Regions from separate parts of the Homo sapiens genome. Here region 1 is linked to region 2. Evidence: promoter capture Hi-C in human tissues and cell types (Jung and others, 2019). All regions are on one chromosome and are shown on one strand. Each heading gives the region's core, a stretch centred on a gene start or on the middle of the fragment in contact. The rest is flanking DNA. Distances are from core to core; before and after follow the strand shown. Region 1 holds the start of MEX3D (mex-3 RNA binding family member D). Region 2 holds the start of EFNA2 (ephrin A2).

Region 1 (5,708 bases), core at 2,397-4,896, 280 kb before region 2:
AAAGAAAAGAAAAGAAAAGAAAAAGTAAAAAACATCAGATGCAGAGTGGGCCTGAGAGAATTTCACATTTCACGGTGACCACAATAGTGCCACCACCTACACCAGCGCTTCCCACCTGAGGTGACTCTGGGCCCAGGGGCCACGTTTGTGGGCATCTGGGCTGTCACAACCAAGGAGGTATATTATGGGTTGAATCATGTCCGCACAAAGATGTCTGTGTCCTCAACCCCACAACTTCTGAATGGGACCTTGTTTGGAAAGAGGGTCTCTGCAGACAAGTTAAGCCAAAGTTGTACGGGAGGGGGTGGACTCTCATCCCGTGACTCCTGTTCCCATGAGAAGAGGGAAACCAGGACACATACAGGGAGACATGGGTGTGTGAAGACAGAGGCCGAGGTCAGAGCGATGCGGCCACAATGAGCGATGAGGCCACAATGAGCGATGAGGCCACAATGAGCGATGAGGCCCAGAGCCCCCAGAAGATGGAAGAGGCAGAAAGGACGCTCCCCAGAGCCTTTGAAGGGGGCGCGGCCCTGCGCACACCTTGAGTTTTGACTCTGAGGCTCCAAAACTGGGAAAGAATTAAATATTCATTGCTTCATTCATTCATAAATTCATTTGTTTATTAGACACAGGGTTTTTTCTTTGTTTGTTTGTTTGTTTTTGAGACAGAGTCTTGCTCTGTTGCCCAGGCTGGAGTGCAGTGGTGTGATCTCAACTTGCTGCAACCTCCACCTCCCGGGTTCAAGCGATTCTCCTGCCTCAGCCTCCCAAGCAGCTGGCACTACAGGCTCACGCCACCACACCCGGCTCATTTCATATTTTTAGTAGAGACAGGGTTTCACCGTGTTGGCCAGGTTGATATAGAACTCCTAACCTAAGGTGATCTACCTGCCTTGGACTTCCAAAGTGCTGGGAAGACAGGCGTGAGCCACCGCGCCCGGCGCCCGGCTGACAATGCCATTAATAATTGCAAGTGGCTGGGCATAGTGTTACCCACCTGTAGTCCCAGCAGTTTGGGAGGCTGAGGCAGGAGGATTGCTTGAGGTTAGGAGTTCAAGACTAGCCCGGGCAACAAAAAGGACCCTGTCTCTACAAATACAAAAAGTAGCCCGGTGTGGTGGTGCACACCTGTGGTCCCAGCTACTCAGGAGGCTGAGGCGGGAGGATTGCTTGAGCTCGGGAGTTCTGAGCTGTAGTGAGCTATGCTGATCCAGCGTCTACATTAATATGATGACCTCCCTGGACTGGGAGGACCACCAGGTTGCCTAAGGAGGGCTGAACCTACCCAAGTCAGAGACGGAGCTGGTCAAAGCTCTCATGCTGATCTGTCCTGGGGTCACACCTGTGAATAGCCACTGCACCCCAGCCTGGGCAACAGAGCAAGACTCTGTCCGAAAAAGAAAGAAAAGGAAAGGAGAGGAGAGGGGAGGGGAGCAGAGAAGGAAGGGAGAATCCTGGTTGATACGGTGAAACCCTGTCTCTACAAAAAATACAAAAAATTAGCTGGGTGTGGCGTCAGGCACCTGTAGTCCCAGCCACTCGGGAGGCTGAGACAGGAGAATGGCGTGAACCCAGAGGCGGAGCTTGCAGTGAGCCAAGACTGCACCACTGCACTCCAACCTGGGTGACAGAGCGAGACTCCGTCTAAAAAAAAAAAAAGAAAGAAAGAAGGAAGGAAGGAAGGAAGGGAGAGAAAAGAAGAAATGAAGAACGAAATAAAGGATGAAAGAAAAGGAAGGAAGCAAGGAAGGAAGGAGAAGAAAGAAAAGAAAGAAGGAAAGAAAGACAGAAAAAAGAAAAGGAAGAGAAAGAAAAAAAGGAAAGAAAGAAAAGGAAAAGAAAAAAGAGAAAGAAAGGAAAGAGAAAGAAAGAAAAAGAAAAGAAAGAAAGGAAGAAAGAAAGAAAAAAAGGAAAGAAAGAGAAAAAAAGAAAGAGAGAAAGAAAGAGAGATAGAAAAACAATTCCAAGCATGGGCGTGCACGAAAGAGAAGTCCAGGACCCCAGGAGGGGAAGTGGGGCTGGATGCAGCCTGGGGTCAGGAGAGAGATTTTGGGTGGGGAAGGGCTCCAGGCAGGGGGATCCTGACCCTGCCTGCCTGGAAGAAGTGGGCAGAGAAGCCACCAAAAGTGAAGGGCCCAGCAGTGGGTGGCTGTGGCTGAGGGACTAGAAGAGTGGCTGAGGGGGACCCAGGGTGTGTGAGGCGGGGGGAGGGGACAGAGGAGAAGCCTTGCTAGGCAAAGGGGCAGGCTGCCCCACTCCTGCCCAGAGAGCCCTGCCTTCGGTCCAAGTTTGCACAGCCAGCCAGGGACAGGTCTGGTAGAAGAGGGGGGCAGGTAGACCCAGCCAGACAGGTTTATCACAAAAAACCCCACAGGTGCAAGGAAGGCCCCGAAGGACAGCTGGAGGAAGAGCCGCTGGGAAAGCGGCTATTTTTTTTTTTTTTTTTTTTTTTTGAGAGGAGTCTTGCTCTGTCAACCAGGCTGGAGTGCAGTGGTGCAATCTCGACTCACTGCAACCACCACCTCCAGGGTTCAAGCAATTATCCTGCCTCAGCTTCCTGAGTAGCTGGGATTACAGGTGCGCGCCACCACGCCTGGCTAATTTTTGTATTTTTAGTAGAGTCGGGGGTTTCACCATGTTGGCCAGGCTGGTCTCTAACTCCTGACCTCGTGATCCACCCGCCTCGGCCTCCCAAACTGCTGGGATGACAGGCATGAGCCACCGCGCCCGGCAAGGGTGGCTTTAGAGGTGGACAACGCCCGTTGCGGGGAAAGGCACCCCAGAAGAGGGTGGGGCTCCACATGGAGGGTTCTGGCTGGTGTGAGCCTGCCCTCGCCATGGAAGCACCACTGTGGTAGAGAGGTCTCTGGCTGGGGGCACAGAGACCGGGTCTGTGGCCTTGGGTGGGGCGGAGGAGGTGGCGTGGAGGAGGTGGCCTGATCCCAAAGCCGGGAGCCAGCCAGAGGGGAGCTAGGAGAGACTAGGGGAGAGGGACCTCAGGCCCTGGGGTGTGCATGATTGTGGAGCTGTCCCTGGCACAGAGGCTGGGGGTGGGGCAGGGGCCTGACCCTAAAGCCCACCTGATAGCAAGGGGTACTTGGGGACTGGGACCCCAGGCCCTGGGGGGTGCACCGTGGGGCGGGGGTTGGACCCTGGCACAGAGGCGGTGGGCGGGCAGGAGCCTGACTTCGAAGTCCAGTGGGATCGCGAGGGGGACTTGGAGAGGACCCCACGCCTTTATGCAGGGAGGTGGGGGTCCCTGGCACAAGGAAGCGGGCGTGGAGCAAGAGACCTCGCTTGGGGGCGACCCGGATCTCTAGGGGAAATTGGGGAGCGGGACCTCGGGCCCTGGGGCGCGCGAGGCAGGGACTCTCAGGCTTGGGGAGGGAGCGCTGTCCAGGCAGGGGCTGAGCCGCACACACCTGCAGCAGCGCCCGCACGTGCGGATGCGCCCGGGTTCCCGCCCGAGCGCCGGGCGGAGGCGGGGCCTGGACCACGTGCCCGGCGCCGGCCCCGCCCCGGCCCCGCCCCGCGCGCCTGCGCCCTGGGGGCCGCCCATTGTTGGGCCGCGGCGTGACGTCGCGGGGGCGGGGCCGGGGCGGGGCCGCGGGAGGCGGCGGGAGGGAAGGAGCGTCCCGCGCCGCCGCCGCCGCCTCGGCCGCCGAGGAGCCGCCGCCGCCGTCGCCGCCGCCGCCGAGCCGCAGCCAGAGTCGCTGCCGCCGCCCGGCCCGGCCCGGCCCGGCCCCGAGCAGCCCCGCGCCGCCGCCGCCCCGCCCGCCCGGCCCCCCGTGCCCGCCCCCGCCGCTGGATGCAGGCGGCCGGCGGCCCAGCTCGCAGAGGCGGAGGGCGGCGCGGGCGGCGGCGGCGGCGCGGGCGGCAGGAGCGCGGGCCCCAGCGCTAGCTCCCGCCATGCCCAGCTCGCTCGGCCAGCCCGACGGCGGCGGGGGCGGGGGCGGCGGCGGCGGCGGCGTGGGGGCGGCGGGGGAGGACCCCGGACCCGGACCTGCGCCCCCGCCCGAGGGCGCCCAGGAGGCCGCGCCCGCGCCCCGGCCGCCGCCCGAACCCGACGACGCGGCCGCCGCGCTCCGCCTGGCGCTGGACCAGCTGTCGGCGCTCGGGCTGGGGGGCGCTGGCGACACGGACGAGGAGGGGGCGGCCGGGGACGGCGCAGCGGCGGCGGGGGGCGCGGACGGCGGGGCGGCTCCGGAGCCTGTGCCCCCCGACGGACCTGAGGCCGGCGCGCCCCCGACCCTGGCCCCCGCCGTGGCCCCCGGGTCGCTGCCGCTGCTGGACCCCAACGCGAGTCCCCCGCCGCCGCCGCCGCCCCGGCCGTCGCCCCCCGACGTGTTCGCGGGCTTCGCGCCCCACCCCGCGGCCCTGGGGCCCCCGACGCTGCTGGCCGACCAGATGAGCGTGATCGGCAGCCGCAAGAAAAGCGTCAACATGACCGAGTGCGTCCCGGTGCCCAGCTCCGAGCACGTCGCCGAGATCGTGGGTCGCCAGGGTGAGTGGCCCTCGTCGGGGGTTGCTGTCCTGGGGGTCCCCGCACCGTCCGCCCCGGGGAAGGGGGTCGCCCGAGCCCAGCCCAGCCCGCGCCGGACGCCCCGCACCGGACACGCCCCGCGTGGGCTCCGGCCTCGGCCGCTGCCTTTGCGCCTTTGTCCTGCAGCCGCCGCGGGAGAAAGTTGGGCGCAGCCCGCGCTCCTCCCCTGCGCGCTCCGGCCCCGCCGCCGCCTTTGTCTGGGCCGCCTCCAGCCCGGAAAGGCTCCGGGGAGCCGCGCCGCAGCCCAGGCCCTCGGCCGCCCGCAGGGGCACCCCAGAGAGGGGCTCGAGGGCCCGGGGCTCCGGCCGGGCGGGGGGCGCCCCACACCCAGCACAGGCGGCGGGGCGGGGCAAGCGCAGGTTTAGGGGTGGCTTAGGGGGGCCGCCTGCAGGACCGGGAGAGAAGGCTGACAGTACAAAGAGCGCACGTCTCAGTCTCCAGCCTGGGGCCCTGACTGGGGTGGGGACGGGACCGGGCAGGAGAGGGTCCCTGCTCCACTCTCTGGCCCCGAGTCAGGGATTTCGGGGCCTGGGGAAGGACCGGCTGTCAAAGCCACTTCTGGGGTGCAGCCTGCTGGGCAGGCCGGCGGGCGGCAGGCCCCGGGTGTGGGGTCCAGCGGTGGCATCGTCGGAGCTTCCCTCTGGCCGCCCCATTGTTCTCTTTGTTAGAGAGCGAGGCTGAGATTTGCAGGGTGACATCAGGCCGGCCGCTGCTCATTGGCCCCCGAGCTGCGGGGCGGGCGGGCGGGTGGTGGGCAGTGCCTGGCCCAGCTCACACCCACCACCCCGTTAGCCACCCGCCCGCCTGCCTCCCTCAACTTTCTCCTGCCTTCCCGCCACCCCTCCCCGCTCCTGGGTCCCCGCTGACCGCCAGTGATCAGCCAGGTTCTAGAACTTGGGGTGGGGCCTTGGCGGGGCTGGTGGTGGGGCCGCAGGACACTTGGGCTGGGGGTCCCTGCCTCCCCGGGGCCCTCGGGAATCCAGGCCAGAGAAAGGTGTGGGGGGCTGGGATTGCAAGGTCATCTATGGCCCTGGCCTCAGGCGGGGGACCACCAGGGCGCCCTCCCCTCCGCCCTTTCCCTCGGTCCAGGTGGGTGGGGCACCACAGCCTCCTGTCTTTTGGTCGTTCATTTGTCCAGCTCATGTGGGGACCCACGGAGGGT
Region 2 (5,630 bases), core at 551-3,050:
CAGCGGCCCGGGGTCCCTGCCCTCAGCCCCCAGGGCCCGACCCGAGGCCGTTGACCAGGGTGGGGGGTGGGCCTGTGCGTGTTCCCCACCCCCACGGCGGAACACGGGCCGCCCTTGTCCCCGAGCCCGCCTCAAAGAGACCCCTTCATGCAACTTTCCTCCCGGGGACCGAGGACAGCAGGAGACAGAGGGGACAAGGAGGGGTGGCGGGCTCCAGAGGGCGGCTCGGTCGGCACAGGAAGCGGCTGGAAAACGGAGAGAAAGTGACCAGTAGCAGAAGAGTGGGGGGGGGCCGCCTCAGCCCCCGATGTGCAGCTCCGTGTGCCTTAGGAAGACGGTGACACCCTGAGTGCTGGGGCTGACTCCCTCCCGAGCCCCAGGACCCCCAAAGCCCCGGCTCCCACGGGACCCCCAGGGAAGCTGCAGCCTGCTCCTGTCTTGGAGACCCTGGGATGGTTCAGAGGGTTCTACCCACGTCCAGGCCATGGCCAGGCCCCGGCAAACTTTTTTTGCTCTGACCAACGGGGGCTTCTCCTGTCCCCCACGTTGTGCCTGGCCCGGACCTGGTTCAAAACAAGGGGGCCTGCAGCAGGCGGGTGCGGCATCTCGGCCGGGCGTGGCAGGCAGGGCACTGGGCCACCTGGGTCCTGCCCCCAAGTCCCCCCCTTGCATGACCTTGAGCCAGCTCCTCATCCCCTCTGCACCTCAGTTTCCTGGTCAGCGCCCAGAGGACAAGAGAGGACTCCATCCCACTGCCCCTCCCGGGGCTGACCCCCAGCTCCCCGGCCCCTCAGTCTCCTTTCAAAGCTGGGCCCTTGGCCCCCTGGAGTGAAGCAGATGCTGGGTCCTGAGGGAGGGACACTCCAACTTCCCCAAGTTCATCTGGGGACCTGCGGGCAGGACGAACCCAGAGATCCCTCGAGGGCCACAGTCCCCCACCTCCGGTGCCAAGGTCCCCGGGGATCCCCACCAAATGCGAAACCGAGGGGGCTCCCCAGAGAAGCGGGTGGATCAGGGGTCCCCCCAAGTCCAGGCAGGCAACTCAGGGGCTACCCGGCATCGGAGGGTACCAGAGGGGTTCCCCAAACTCCAGGAGACGTCGGCGCTCTGGGGGATGTGGGGCGCGAGTCCCCACAGTCCGTAGGGCAATGGGGCGCCCCGGGGAAGGCAGGCGCGAAAAGGGCGAGTCCCCCAAACTCCGGGGGGCCGGAGCTCCCTGGGGGGCTCCCGCGGGAACCGGGCGCCCGCATCCCGGCGGCGGCGCGCGCGTGGGGGGCGCCCGGAGCTCCGGGGGCGCGAGGCCGGGCGCGGCTTGGGGGGCGTTGGGGGGTCCCCGGGCGCCCCCCGCGCGCGGCCGCGCTCACCTGGGGTTGCTGCGGTTCCAGTAGACGGCGTAGCGGTCCGAGTTGGCGCGGGCGGCGTCCTCGGCGCGCGCGAAGGGCGGCGGCGGCAGCGGTAACAGCAGGAGCAGCAGCGGGAGCAGCGGGCGCTGCGCGGGCGCCATGGCCCCGGTCCGGCCGCCGCGCTCGCTCTCCCGGCCGCCGCCTGCCAGCCTTCTCCGCCTCCTCCGCCGCCGCCGCCGCCGCCGAGCGGGCGGGCGGAGGGCGGGCGGGAGGAGGGCGCGGCGGCGCTTGGAGATCCCGGGCCGCCCCCGCCTCCGCGCGCGCGACCTCGGGCGCCGAGAAGTCAGGCGGCGGCGGGGCGGGGCGCCGGGGTCGCCCCGGGCGCAGGACCCGGCCGCGCGGACTGTCGGAGCGCGGGCCGCCGCCGCCGCACCCGCCGGGGAGGGGCCCGGGCTCCGGCCTTTGTCCCGCCCGAGCGTCGGGAGGGCCGCGGGCGCCCCCTCCCGCCGTGCCCCGGCCGCGCGGGGACTGGGCGGGGGTCTCCAGCCTGCGCCCGCCCCCTGCCCCGGCCCACCCCGTCTCAGGCTCGTCCCCCGGGGCCTGCCCCCAGCGACCCCGATTCTGCGCGCCCCCCGCCGGCATCCGCGTGGCCCGGCCTGGGGTCTCCGAGGGGCGGGGGCGCACCCTGCCTCCCGCGCCCCCACGCGCTCCACCCGGCCCGGCCCTGGGTCCCGGGCCTCTCACCTGCCCGGTTCCAGCGCTATCCGCAGCCTCACCAACCCCGACGCACGCGTCCCAAATCGGGCTCGGCCAACTCCAGTCTCCCTGCGGGGGCCGGGGCAGAGTTTCAGAGGGGCGCTGGCCAAAGTCCAAAGCTGCTCGGGCTGCGACCTCCCTGGGGCCCTCCTGGGAGTCGCCTCTCCGGACCCACGCTGTTCCCTGGGGATGGAGTAAGTCCCTACACCTCAGCCCTAAGGGTGCCGGGAGCATAGTAGGTGGACCGATGTGGAGTGTGAGCAGCTGGGGATGGGATCCAAGAAGCCCAGAGTGAAGCCCCGGCCGACAGCAAATCAGTCTCCACGCACGAATCCTGCAGGCAGGGGAGGGCCGCTGCCCGGGGGCACAGCTTGTGCAAAGACCCGGGGTCTGATCTGTTCAGGGAACGCCGAGTGATTTCTCCTCCTGGTAGGCTGACACAGGTGGGGAACTGGGGGCCTGGCCTCTGCTTTGTCTTTTTTCCAATCTATAGAGACAGTGTCTGGCCATGTTGGCCACGCTGGTCTTGAACTCCTGGGCTCAGGCGATCTTCCCACCTGGGCTTCCCAAAGTGCTAGGATTACAGGCGTGAGCCACTGCACCTGGCCTGCCCTCTGTTTTTGCCCTTATTCATGCCACAGCCTCCCTCACCAGACTCTGAGCTTGTGGAGGGTAGGCTGTCATCAAACGCTGGCTGGACTTTGCTGGCGATGCCCAGATCGTGTTGTACGTCTCTGAATTAGTGTCATTCACCAGGCCCAGTGCAGGAGAGGGAACTGCAGGGCAAGCACCAACAGCCCTTGGACCCGAAGGTCCCTGTGTGAGGCATTACCCAAACTCCTGGCAGGGACCGTGAACCCAGAGATGGGCAAGCTAACCTGTGCCCCAGCAAGGTGGGGTGGGGACCGGACCCACCACCGTCCCACAGCTCTGAGACGTGGTGGGCTCTGTCCTGTGTCTCCTGCGTGCCCTCCTCCCCCGATTCCCCAGCGGGCCACGCGGGCCACACCACCTGACCTTTGTTCAGGCTGGGTCCTGCTGGGAAGTCCTTCCACTTTTTCTTCCTGTTAAAATCTTGCTCTTCCAGAAAGGTCTGTCCCACCCAGTGCTCTAGCGTCCCTGCCAGGACAAGGTTCTCAGTTCTCTCTCCTCCAGGGAGCTCAGCCCGTCTGTTCTGAGCTCCAGGTCTCATCCCCTGACCCCACTACAGACGTCCCAGGTCGAAGGCCCAGGGCTGGCCGGGTGTCTCTTCAGTGGAGGGCGTGAACCTGTCCCAGGTGGTGGCTGAGGCAGGCCCTCTGGACAGGCTCTCTCAGCACCCCTGGAGTGAGGGCCTTGGGTTCTAGCCACACAAGGCTCTGTAGCCCAGACAGGCTGGAGAAGCTTCCCGGGCGGCTCCGTCTGGTGGGGGGCTCTTTTAGGGAGGGGGACGGCCACTCCCGGAGGTGAGCACTTTCGGAGCAGAGTGTGGCGGCTGCACCCAAGCACAGGACAAGGGGCCGTGAGCCTGGGGTCTTGGCGTGCCCGGCCCCAGCATGCCACCTGGCAAAGGTGGGAGTTCTGGAAGCTTCCTTCTACCCTGGGACCAGAAGCCCCCTCCTGCTTCAAGGGATCTCGTGGGTGAGGAGGGGTGGGCCAGGGTCGGGAGGAGGGGGTCTCTTCTCAAACCAGGACTGGGACCTGCACAGGTGGGAGCTGGAAGGGCACCACCTCCACCCAGGCATGGCAGGGCCACTCATTTGCATGCAGGGGCCACCGAGGCGAGAGCCGCCACCACCGCCACCGCTGAACGGATTTGAGCAGAAGCTCCGTTTTCCTTCTGTTCTTGTCTCTCTCAAGGTCAGAGCCCAAGCAGGGACGGGAACAAAGGCGGTGCGTCCCCCATTCAACCTCCCCGCGCCCGCTGGCCGCTCCTAGAGGAAGGACCTGGGGAAGGGAGGGGAGGGCAGGGCGTCTCCGAGGCCTGGCCCTGGGCGAGGCTGCCCCGGCAAACCCCTGCCTGGCAGGGGGGCCACTGTGGGGGTCCAAGAAGCCCTGTTCCCTCCTGGGGCTGGGAGCTGTCCCGGCTTTGGGACGCAGCCGCGGCCGGAGGTCACTCTAGAGTAAGCTTCCTGTGGAGCCAAGGGTCAGAAATCAGGCTCACTCTGGGAACAGGTGTCCGCCAAGGTCAGGGGTTATCCAGGGTCGCCCTCAGTCCCTGGTCTGGAGCCAGTACAGGGCTTGATGGGGTCTGGCCCCGCCCCCTGCTCTGCACTGCTGGGACTGGGGTCTACCCAGACTCAGGAAGGGACTTGTCCAGCCCGTGCCCAGCACCCACTGCCCACATGGCCAGGCCACAGGGCTTGGGATCAGCGTCCCGCAGCCCCTCAGCCTTCAAAGGCCGCGACGCCAGGAGGAAGCTAAAAATATGCGGGGAGAATTTCTCATTACAGAATAAATTGGACCCAATGCGCTGCCTGCCCTGGTGCCGGCAGCCTTCAGAAGCCCCATCTCAGCCAGGCAAGGATCAGGCGGCAGGGGTCACGGGGCGCTGGGGCCCGGGCAGGTCACAGGCTCCACTCAGGGCGGGAGCCCCACCGCTGTCCATCGCCCCCCACCTGCGAAGCACGGAGCTGGGGTCTGCGCTTAGCCCCAGGGGCCAGGGGCGTTTCCCCTGGGCTGGGTCGCTGTCCTTGAAAATAAAAATGTATCCCTTTCTCCAGTGGGTAACATGAAAATCCCCACCCCCATCCAGCCATGGACCCAAGATTCCTGCAACCCCTGCAGCCAGTGGTGGAAAAGAGCAGGCACACAGCCCCATTCCCAGCTCACCCTCCTCCCTCCTCCCCAGCTCCCATCCTTCCCATTCTCCTCTCTTCACACTCTCCTCCCTCCCTCCTCCCCTCCCTCCCTCCTCCCTTCACACCCTCCTCCCTCCCTCCTCCCTTCACACCCTCCTCCCTCCCTCCTCCCCTCCCTCCCTCCTCCCTTCACACCTTCACACCCTCCTCCCTCCCTCCTCCCCTCCCACCCTCCTCCCCCTCCTCCCTTCACACCCTCCTCCCTCCCTCCTCCCCTCCCTCCTTCCCTTCACACCTTTCCCCTCCCTCCCCCTCCCTACTTCCCTCCCACCTCCCCTCCCTCCTTCCCTTCACACCTTCCCCTCCCTCCCTCTCTCCTTCCTCCCCTTCCCACCCTTCTCCCCTCCCTCCTTCCTTCCCCCTTCATACTACCCTCCCCTCCCTCCTCCCCCTTCCCACTCTCTTCCCCCTTAATACCCCCTCCCTTCCTTCCTCTCTCCCTCTCCTTTTACACCTTCCTCCCCTTCTCAGTCCTCCGCTCCCTCCTCCCTCCTTCCCCTTCACACCCTCCTCCCCCCTCCTTCCCCCATCCTCTGCACCCTCCTCTCCTTCCTCCTCCTCCCCTTCCCTCCTTCCTTCCTTCCTCCTCCCATCCTTCCTCTCCATTCACATCCTTCTCCTTCCCACTCTGTCCCCTCCCTCCTCCCCTTCCTCCTCCTTCCTCTCTCCCTCATCCCACCTTCAGGTCTGG

What was found. Contacts are between HindIII fragments. The study calls those that stand out against the background at their distance.
Region 1: the fragment with the promoter of MEX3D here is called in contact with the fragment with the promoter of EFNA2 in region 2 in 3 of the 25 tissues and cell types used here (dorsolateral prefrontal cortex, lymphoblastoid cells and spleen).

What each region holds. Positions count from the first base shown.
Region 1 is chr19:1,566,263-1,571,970 of GRCh38, reverse strand. MEX3D (mex-3 RNA binding family member D) reads left to right here and starts at 3,646. Exons shown (of 2, transcript NM_203304.4): 1 at 3,646-4,507. The coding sequence starts at 3,913. It also overlaps the pseudogene RN7SL477P. RefSeq lists silencers at 3,367-3,416, 3,457-3,646. The HindIII fragment of the contact is 18,806 bases long and covers 1-5,708 here.
Region 2 is chr19:1,282,043-1,287,672 of GRCh38, reverse strand. It overlaps EFNA2 (ephrin A2), which reads right to left and starts at 1,800. Exons shown (of 4, transcript NM_001405.4): 1 at 1,365-1,800. The coding sequence starts at 1,504. RefSeq lists enhancers at 1,715-2,215, 2,216-2,716, 4,240-5,086. The HindIII fragment of the contact is 32,397 bases long and covers 1-3,936 here.